Regions from separate parts of the Homo sapiens genome. Here region 1 is linked to region 2. Evidence: promoter capture Hi-C in 16 types of primary human blood cells and fetal thymus (Javierre and others, 2016). All regions are on one chromosome and are shown on one strand. The core of a region is centred on a gene start or on the middle of the fragment in contact, and the rest is flanking DNA. Distances in the headings are between cores, read along the strand shown. Region 1 overlaps SFXN2 (sideroflexin 2). Region 2 holds the start of INA (internexin neuronal intermediate filament protein alpha).

The links. Contacts are between HindIII fragments. The CHiCAGO score rates a contact against its expected background, and 5 or more counts as called.
Region 1: a contact is called between a fragment that was not itself captured here and the fragment with the promoter of INA in region 2, in 1 of 17 cell types (endothelial precursors). The highest score is 5.2, in endothelial precursors.

Annotation. Positions count from the first base shown.
Region 1 is chr10:102,729,204-102,732,857 of GRCh38, reverse strand. It overlaps SFXN2 (sideroflexin 2), which reads right to left. Exons shown (of 12, transcript NM_178858.6): 5 at 3,464-3,539; 6 at 3,050-3,135; 7 at 1,075-1,135; 8 at 640-706. Among named protein-coding and RNA genes, the nearest start is that of WBP1L, 13 kb to the left of the region's middle. RefSeq lists enhancers at 2,538-3,310, 3,311-3,654. The HindIII fragment of the contact is 2,392 bases long and covers 208-2,599 here.
Region 2 is chr10:103,275,722-103,279,557 of GRCh38, reverse strand. It overlaps INA (internexin neuronal intermediate filament protein alpha), which reads right to left and starts at 2,420. Exons shown (of 3, transcript NM_032727.4): 1 at 1,282-2,420. The coding sequence starts at 2,346. RefSeq lists an enhancer at 1,401-2,005. The HindIII fragment of the contact is 2,856 bases long and covers 883-3,738 here.

The DNA of each region.
Region 1 (3,654 bases), core at 154-2,653, 550 kb after region 2:
TGGAAGAGACCAGGGAGAAGCTGAGGGGAGGGCTGGGAGGCTCTCCCCAGGACTCCTTCTGAAGTCAGACCAGGAACCAAGTGGTTCCCTCTCCTTCAGCAGAAGCTCCAGAAAATACTTACCACTAGGCAGAACAGAAGAGCAAGTAGGCATGACCACCCCCAAACTTTCTCCCCAAAGTCCTGGCAGAACAGTGCTTCCCAAGCTTCTCAACCTGCACACTTGCAATATCAGGAAAACATGTGCTGCTAGGTCCAAAGCTACCTTCTCAAAACTCAAAAATGTATTTGTACGTTCGTGCAAACAAATTTTGCAATACACCCACTGCTGGAAGCAAACCAAAGCAGGGAATTTATTTTCTCTATCACTCTCCCTAGCACCCCACACTGTGTCTAACATTAAACACAAGGGCTTGACAAGTATTAATAAAATGAAAATAACTTTCTACCCCAAACCTTGGATGAACTGATGTTCTAGGAACTAGTGTGGTTCTTCTAGGCTTACAGCAATCAAGCAAAGCAGTTTGAGAAGCATGGCTGTAGAAGGTGGGCCCCACCTCCCACCCAAAAGCTGAGTGTGGCTGAGACCTCCACCCTGTGTCACAGGCTTCCCCAGGATGGAAGGGCTTCCCCATCTTACTCATCCCAGGAGCTGACATGGTGATCCGAGAAATAACTACTTGGGTGATGCCTATGGCCGCAGCTCTCTGAGGGCAGAAAATAGTAAGTTGTCAGAAATGATGTATCCAGTGTACATGTGCTGCACCAGGGGGCTGGGTCAGCATCATGGCCAAGTCTGAGATGGTAAAGGGGAAGGGAAGGACCCTCCAGTTGCTGAGTGACCTCACTTTATCCCCTCCCACCTAGCCAGGTTTTTATGGACCAGAAATGATGGAGAAAAGAGAGAAGGGGCCTGTTCTGAACAGAGAAACATGGGGAAAATTTGATAGGGAGTGAGGATGGAGCCAGAAAAGGCTTCTCAATCCTATATTGGTGCCTACTCTGACCACTAAGGAGGGGACAGGGTATGAGAGGGAATTCCCTCCTCCCACCCCAAAGGGAGGCCTCTGCTCACCCGGGAATGACCAATCTCATTTTCATTCCTGTCCTTCACGCAGATTCCCTTTATGAGCTCCCTAAACACAGACAGGAGTTAATGGACTTGGGAAAGGGGTGATGGAAGCCTGCCAGCCACATGACATGCCAGGGGACCAAGGCCAGGCCACTTAAGCTCCAGGAAGCCACCTCCTGTAGCCTGGGCCTTTGACCTTCCTTCTGCACTCCAATAAGCAGTATCTTAGGAGTGATCTAGGGCAGTGGCTGAGAGCGGTGGCCCTGGGCCCGGACTGTCTGGGTTGAGTCCTGAAACTGCAGGGGATGTGTGTGACCTTGAGCACAGTCTTTAACCCTCCCAAAGCCTCAGTTTTGCTTATCTGCAAAATGGGGATCATCCTGGCACCCACTTTACAGGACCTGGTAAGGATTAAATGAGATAATGGCTATGAAATACTTGGTCCAGCACCTGACACACAGTGTGATCACTCCACAAACAGTAGCTACTCTAGCTATTCCTTTTTTTTTTTTTTTTTTTTTTGAGACAATCGCACTCTGTCACCCAGGCTGGAGTGTAGTGGCATGATCTTGGCTCACTGCAACCTCCATCTCCTGGGTTCAAGCGATTCTCCTGCCTCAACCTCCCCAGTAGCTAGAATTACAGGCATGCGCCACCATGCCCGGCTAATTTTTGTTTTTGTTTTTTGGTTTTTTTTTTGTGATGGAGTCTCACTCTGTCACCCAGGCTGGAGTGCAGTGGTGCGATCTTGGCTCACTACAAGCTCCGCCTCCCGGGTTCACAACATTCTCCTGCCTCAGCCTCCCAAGTTGCCGGGACTACAGGCACCCGCCACCATACCTGGCTAATTTTTTGTATTTTTTAGTAGAGACGGGGTTTCACCGTGTTAGCCAGGATGGTCTCGATCTCCTGACCTCGTGATCCGCCCACCTCAGCCTCCCAAAGTGCTGGGATTACAGGCGTGAGCTACCACGCCTGGCCCTAATTTTTGTATTTTTAGTAGAGATGGGGTTTTGCCATGTTGGCCAGGCTGGTCTCAAACTCCTGGCCTCAGGTGATCCTCCTGCCTCAGCATCCCAAAGTGCTGGGATTACAGGCGTGAGCCACCGCACCCAGCCCACCCCAGCTGTTCTTCTCAGGCCAGTTCTTGACAGCACTCAACTCAAGCCCCGGTAGGTGGCAGGGACTCATTCTCCTGTTAGGAAAGGGCCACTGGATGGGGAAGGAAAGATGAATGGAGCAGCATGTGTGCACAACTATTCTGGTAGTGCTTCCTCTACAAAGACTAGTGTGAACATTTTCCATTTGTTGGTAGTCCCAAGAAAATGTGGCTTGTAGATATTGATGATGATGACAATGGTAGAAATAACAGTGAACACTTATGTAGCATCTCTTATGTTCCAGGTGCTATTTTGAGTGCTTTACATATATTACATCATTAAAACCTCATAACAGAGATTTCTCTAGTCAAGAAATAAGAACTGTGAGACACAATGAGTTTCTCCTTTACCTTTTCTCCTGAAAAGCTTAGAGTTGGGTGCCTGGAAAACTTCTGTCTACTCCTCTGGCTTCTTTCAAAGCTTCTGGGTTCTATGCTATCTTTAGACACCTCAGCCTGCTACATTTCATTCTGTATGCCATCCCCAGGGCTTGGGAAGTAGGAGGAGTTCACAATTTTAACACAGGTCCAAAAGGACATGATCCAGTGTAAAACTCCACAGGTCCACCCTGTCTTTCCCATCCCACATCACCCAGGAGAGGACTCCCACGGGACTCAACACACGGCCTAACCCAAAGTCACCCACCACTCCCGGGGCCATCACCATGGGAGCTGCCAATCCCAGGGCCCTTCAGAGGCTCAGCCCAGCAGCCCTCCCCATGCCCACCGCAGTCCCCAGAAGCCACCCACTGCTTTGGTTTCTTGCCCCTTTTCTGCTAATCTTGTGGTTTGTAGGGAGAAAAAGGGGCCTTTACTCACTGCTGTCGCATCATGGGGATATTGACACAGTTAGCCGCAGCCACAGCGGCAAAGGGCACCCAGCGGCCCACCAAGGGCGGCGCTTTCTGTTGGGGGAAGAGAACAGTAGGAGTTGTTCAGAAGCGCTGGAAGATGGGAGGGGAGGGGGCTGAACGACTAGAATACAAAAAAGAAAACTAGGCCTTGCTACCGCCACACATCCAGACACCCAGTCTGGGAACCCCAAACTCCCTCAAAGGCCCAAGAAGAACCAACCTGGGGACGGCCCTGGTGTATTTCTCATCACTTGGCCAGCCGGGCTCTGGCCATTCCCAACTCACCCAGCCTGGGGAACTGTCCCTGGGGGAAGGACGTTTTCCCTAGGACTCTGCTGCCCCCGCGTGGCCACCATGCTGCAGCGGCCCCAGACCATACCTTTGTCAACATGTTCATGCCCACAGCCGTGGCCACAGCAGTGGTTGTGGCTGTGAAGTAGGAAAGGGCCATCTGCCTGGGGGAGGAGAGAGATGCTTGGGAGTGGGGCCCCTGCCGGCTGAGGGCCAAACCACGGGCTTCAGGGAGAAAGTCGGCTGGCGAGGCTTCGTGCGTGAAAACCGCACAGGATC
Region 2 (3,836 bases), core at 1,171-3,670:
AGGAGCTTTTATTGTACCTTGAAACCGAACCACACTATTCCAATTCTTTTCTACACCTTCCATTTACCCTGTCCCCTGCCTCTGTGCCATTTGCGGTCATAATCCCAGAATTTCTTATATAGTAAAACTGAAGACACAGTGGCCTTTGTTGGGAAGAAATAGCCAATCAATACCATCACAGGAGCTTAGAGGACAGGGAAATATGGAAAAAATACATACACTAGAACAAAGAAAAACCATCTCTGTGACTTATCACATGCACTTACAATGAAAAAAATACTAACAAAACAGGAATTTTCAAGTGGGACCTCACAGCTGCTGAGCAAATTAAGTGTTTTTTGTTTAGTGCTAAGCCATCCATGAAAGCCAAAACTGATGTTGTCTATGAGGTGACCTTTGATTGCAGGTAGCCAAGACTGATGTGTTGGTGTTGCAGGAAAAAAAAAATCAAAGCAGTTAATTGCCTAGAGATTCATAACTGGGACACGAGACAGGAGAGACATAATTTCTGAGATGGGAAGAACTCGAGATCAGCACCGTGGACAGCGCCCCGACCTTTCACGTTTTGCCAACCGGCGAACGCTTTCTTAAGGAGGAAATGTCAGCTGGTGGACAAGGGAATCGTGTGTGTGTGTGTGTGTGTGTGTGTGTGTGCTGGTGGACAAGGGAATCGTGTGTGTGTGTGTGTTGGGGAGGTGGGTAGAGCAGGGTGGTTACTACTAGCTCAAGCATCGCTCAGCTTGTTGGCTCCCAATCTCTACTTTTTGGAGCGCGAAAGTCAAGAAAATGGGATAGGACTCTTCCCAGTTCAGGATCGCATTCTTCCTTCAGCCCTGAAGCAGACCATACTCCATAAATAACTTCTAGGGCGCACAGAAAGCTTTTCAAAGTCAACCAAACAAGCCAGATAGCCGAGACAGCACCGCCCACGTAACCTGCCCCGTTGGGCTCAGTCTTACTTTGGGTGGGGCACTGTTCTCCGGGTCGCCGGTGTGTGTAGGCCCGCTTGCTGACAGACAGGCAGAGTTGGGTTTTCGAACCTCAAATAAATTTAAGGGCTTCTTTGTTTGAAGGGCTGGGGCAGGGACATAAATGAGGGGCGTTCCCTAAAATTAACATTAAAGACTCCAGGGTTTTTTGTTAACCAGCGCCTCCAGCCGCGGCTCTTCTCTCCTCTCTTTTGCCCTCCCCTTAAGTCCTGGGGCCCAGTTTTACCAGAGGAAGAGGGTACGCGCGGAAGAGGGCAGGGCACCCCTCCCCACGCCCAGCCCCGGCCCTTACCTGGTAGCCAGCTACCTCGGCACTGTGCCGCTCCTCCAGCTCCAGGATCTGCCTCTCCAAGGACTCGTTGGCCCCGCGCAGGCCCTCGATCTCGATGGTGCGCGCCTGCAGCTGGCGCCGATACTCGTGGATCTCCTCGCGGCTGGCCCGGATGGCCTCGGTGCTGCGCGCCGCCTGCTCGTTCAGGTTGGCAAACTTGGACTTGTACCATTCTTCCGCGGACTGCAGGTTCTTAGCGGCCAGGGACTCATACTGGGCGCGGATCTCCCTCAGAGCCGAGGTCAGGTCTGGTTTAGCCACAGTCACGTCCACCTCGGCCGCGGCCTGCGACGACGCCTGCAGCGTGGCCAGCAGCTCGGCTACCTCCTCGTCGTGCACCTGGCGTACGAAGGCCAGCTCGTCCAGCAGCGACTCCACCTTCTTCTCCAGGTCCAGGCGGGCCAGCGTGGCGCCGTCCACGTCGCGCTGCTGCGCCTTCAGGGCGCGCTCGGCGCCTTCGCGTCCGCGGCTCTCCTCCTCGCAGCGCGCCCGCAGCCGCTGCACCTCCTCCGCCAGCCCGTCGCGCTCCAGCAGGGCCTGCGAGCGAGCCGAGCTGGCCTCCTCCAGCTGCGCGCGCAGGTCGCGCAGCTCGCGCTGGAAGAGCTCGCCGACGCGCGACGGCTCAGCGTGGCGCTGTCGCAGCGCGGCCAGCTCGGCCTCCAACGCGCGGTTCTGCGTCTCCAGCTGATGCACCTTCTCGATGAACACGGCGAAGCGGTCGTTGAGGCCCTGCAGCTGCTCCTTCTCGTTGGTGCGGATGATCTTGTACTCGTTGGTGCGCGCCGCCGCCTGGCTCAGGTCCAGCCCGTCGGACGCCGGCGGCCGGCGATAGGCCAGGCCGAGGCCGAGCGACGAGGCCGAGGAGCAGGCGGCCGAGGAGGCCACATTGCTGCGGGACAGCGACTGCGAGCGGAAGCCGCCCGCGCCGCCGGCCCCAGAGAGGCGGGCGGACAGGCGAGAGCCATCCCCGAACACCTTGCGGTAGGAGGAGGAGGAGCACAGGTAGTGCTCCGAGCCGAAGCTCATGGTGCCGGGATCGGGGCCGGACGTGCGGCTTCAACGCGAGCTACAGAAGAAAGGAGAGGTGCGGCAGGCAGGGCGCGGCGGGGCGGTGCGCCCGGCTTTTAAGGCGCCGGGGCTGGGGCGGCGCGCTGGGGGCGGAGCTCCTGCTCAGAGTCTGGCCGGGAGAGGGAAGGGGGGCATCCAGGAGTGGGGGCGGGGAGGCGCAGTGACTACCGCAGCTGCGCGCGCGACGACCTGGGGCGCCGGGACAGGGCCATCTGCATCGGAGTCGCCCCTTTCCGCAGCGCTTCTCCCCAAGAATCGACTGCTTCGGAAGTGACTCGAGCGGAGGGGTGCCTAAACGACTGAGGTTTCCCATCCGGAAACCACACAGCTCTGTCGCATCCCTTGACCCTATCCCCTCTTCTTTAACCGACTGGGAGGTTAGGGGTTTCTGGGAGGTGTCCCCTACACCCACCCTCATCCTGAGGTGAGGCGCACAGAAAGCCTTCCCGAGGGCGAGGTCGTGTTTTTCCAGTTACAGTGAGGACCTGCAGAGCGAGCCCTTGTCCCCTTCCTCAGGGTCCCCAAGGAGAAAGGTGGGAGATGCTACGTCAGAAAGCATCTCTCCAGCTGCCCCTCTGCAGCTCCTGGGGAGGCTCCGGGCGGAAAGATGTTCAGCAAGTGCCTCTCCCAGAAGAGAGGGGAGATCAGTAAAGAAAGTGACCCCGAGCTGCGGAGAGTGGGGAGAAGCGGCGGTACAGAGGGGAAAAGAGGCCAGACTTGGAGAAGCAGGAGGCGCTGGGAATTGCTGGGGCTCATCGTTAGGGCACTAAAGCATGGCACAGGCCAGGACCACAAGCTGCTGGAAAGGGGGCTGCAGACTTTTGTGTTTAGAGCATTATATTTTAAAATATTTCGAAAGGAGCATTTTTAAACCAGGAGATTTCACCTGTAAAGAAATTGGATTTCTGGCTTCTTCTGAAAATGGGAAGAGCTGGGATGCCCACAGTGGCAGAGGTGAGTTGCCCTTGCCATTTGTATAAGAAGTGTGCTCTCCTGTTCACTACAGTCCCTGCCATTCTCCACTGAATTACGCCCCCCTTCTTAATTCATTTACTTTACCTCTCTGACCCTGTGGGCATTTGAGATTTCAGTTTGTGTAAATCCAGCAGGGCAGGTTCTCAACTGGCTTCAGAGAGCCACTCCCTGTGCAGATCTCTTTTTGGAGAAAAGAGATCCCTGCAAAAAGATTAAACTCCAGGAGTGGGGGAGAGTGCTGGTGACTGAGCCGGCCTCTTCTGCCACATGGTAGGGTTGGTGGGGCAGGGGGTGAGAATCAAAGAATGGAATCTGAAAAGATGAAGGCTGGGAGGGGTCAGTGTGGCGTCTGTAATATGTACCCACTTGCAAGCTTCTAATATCATTCAGGATGTGGATATGGCTTTGGAGAGGGAGTAGGAAGACCTTTTTAGTTATATCCCAGAATTCCAGACTGAGGGCCTTTTATTGAT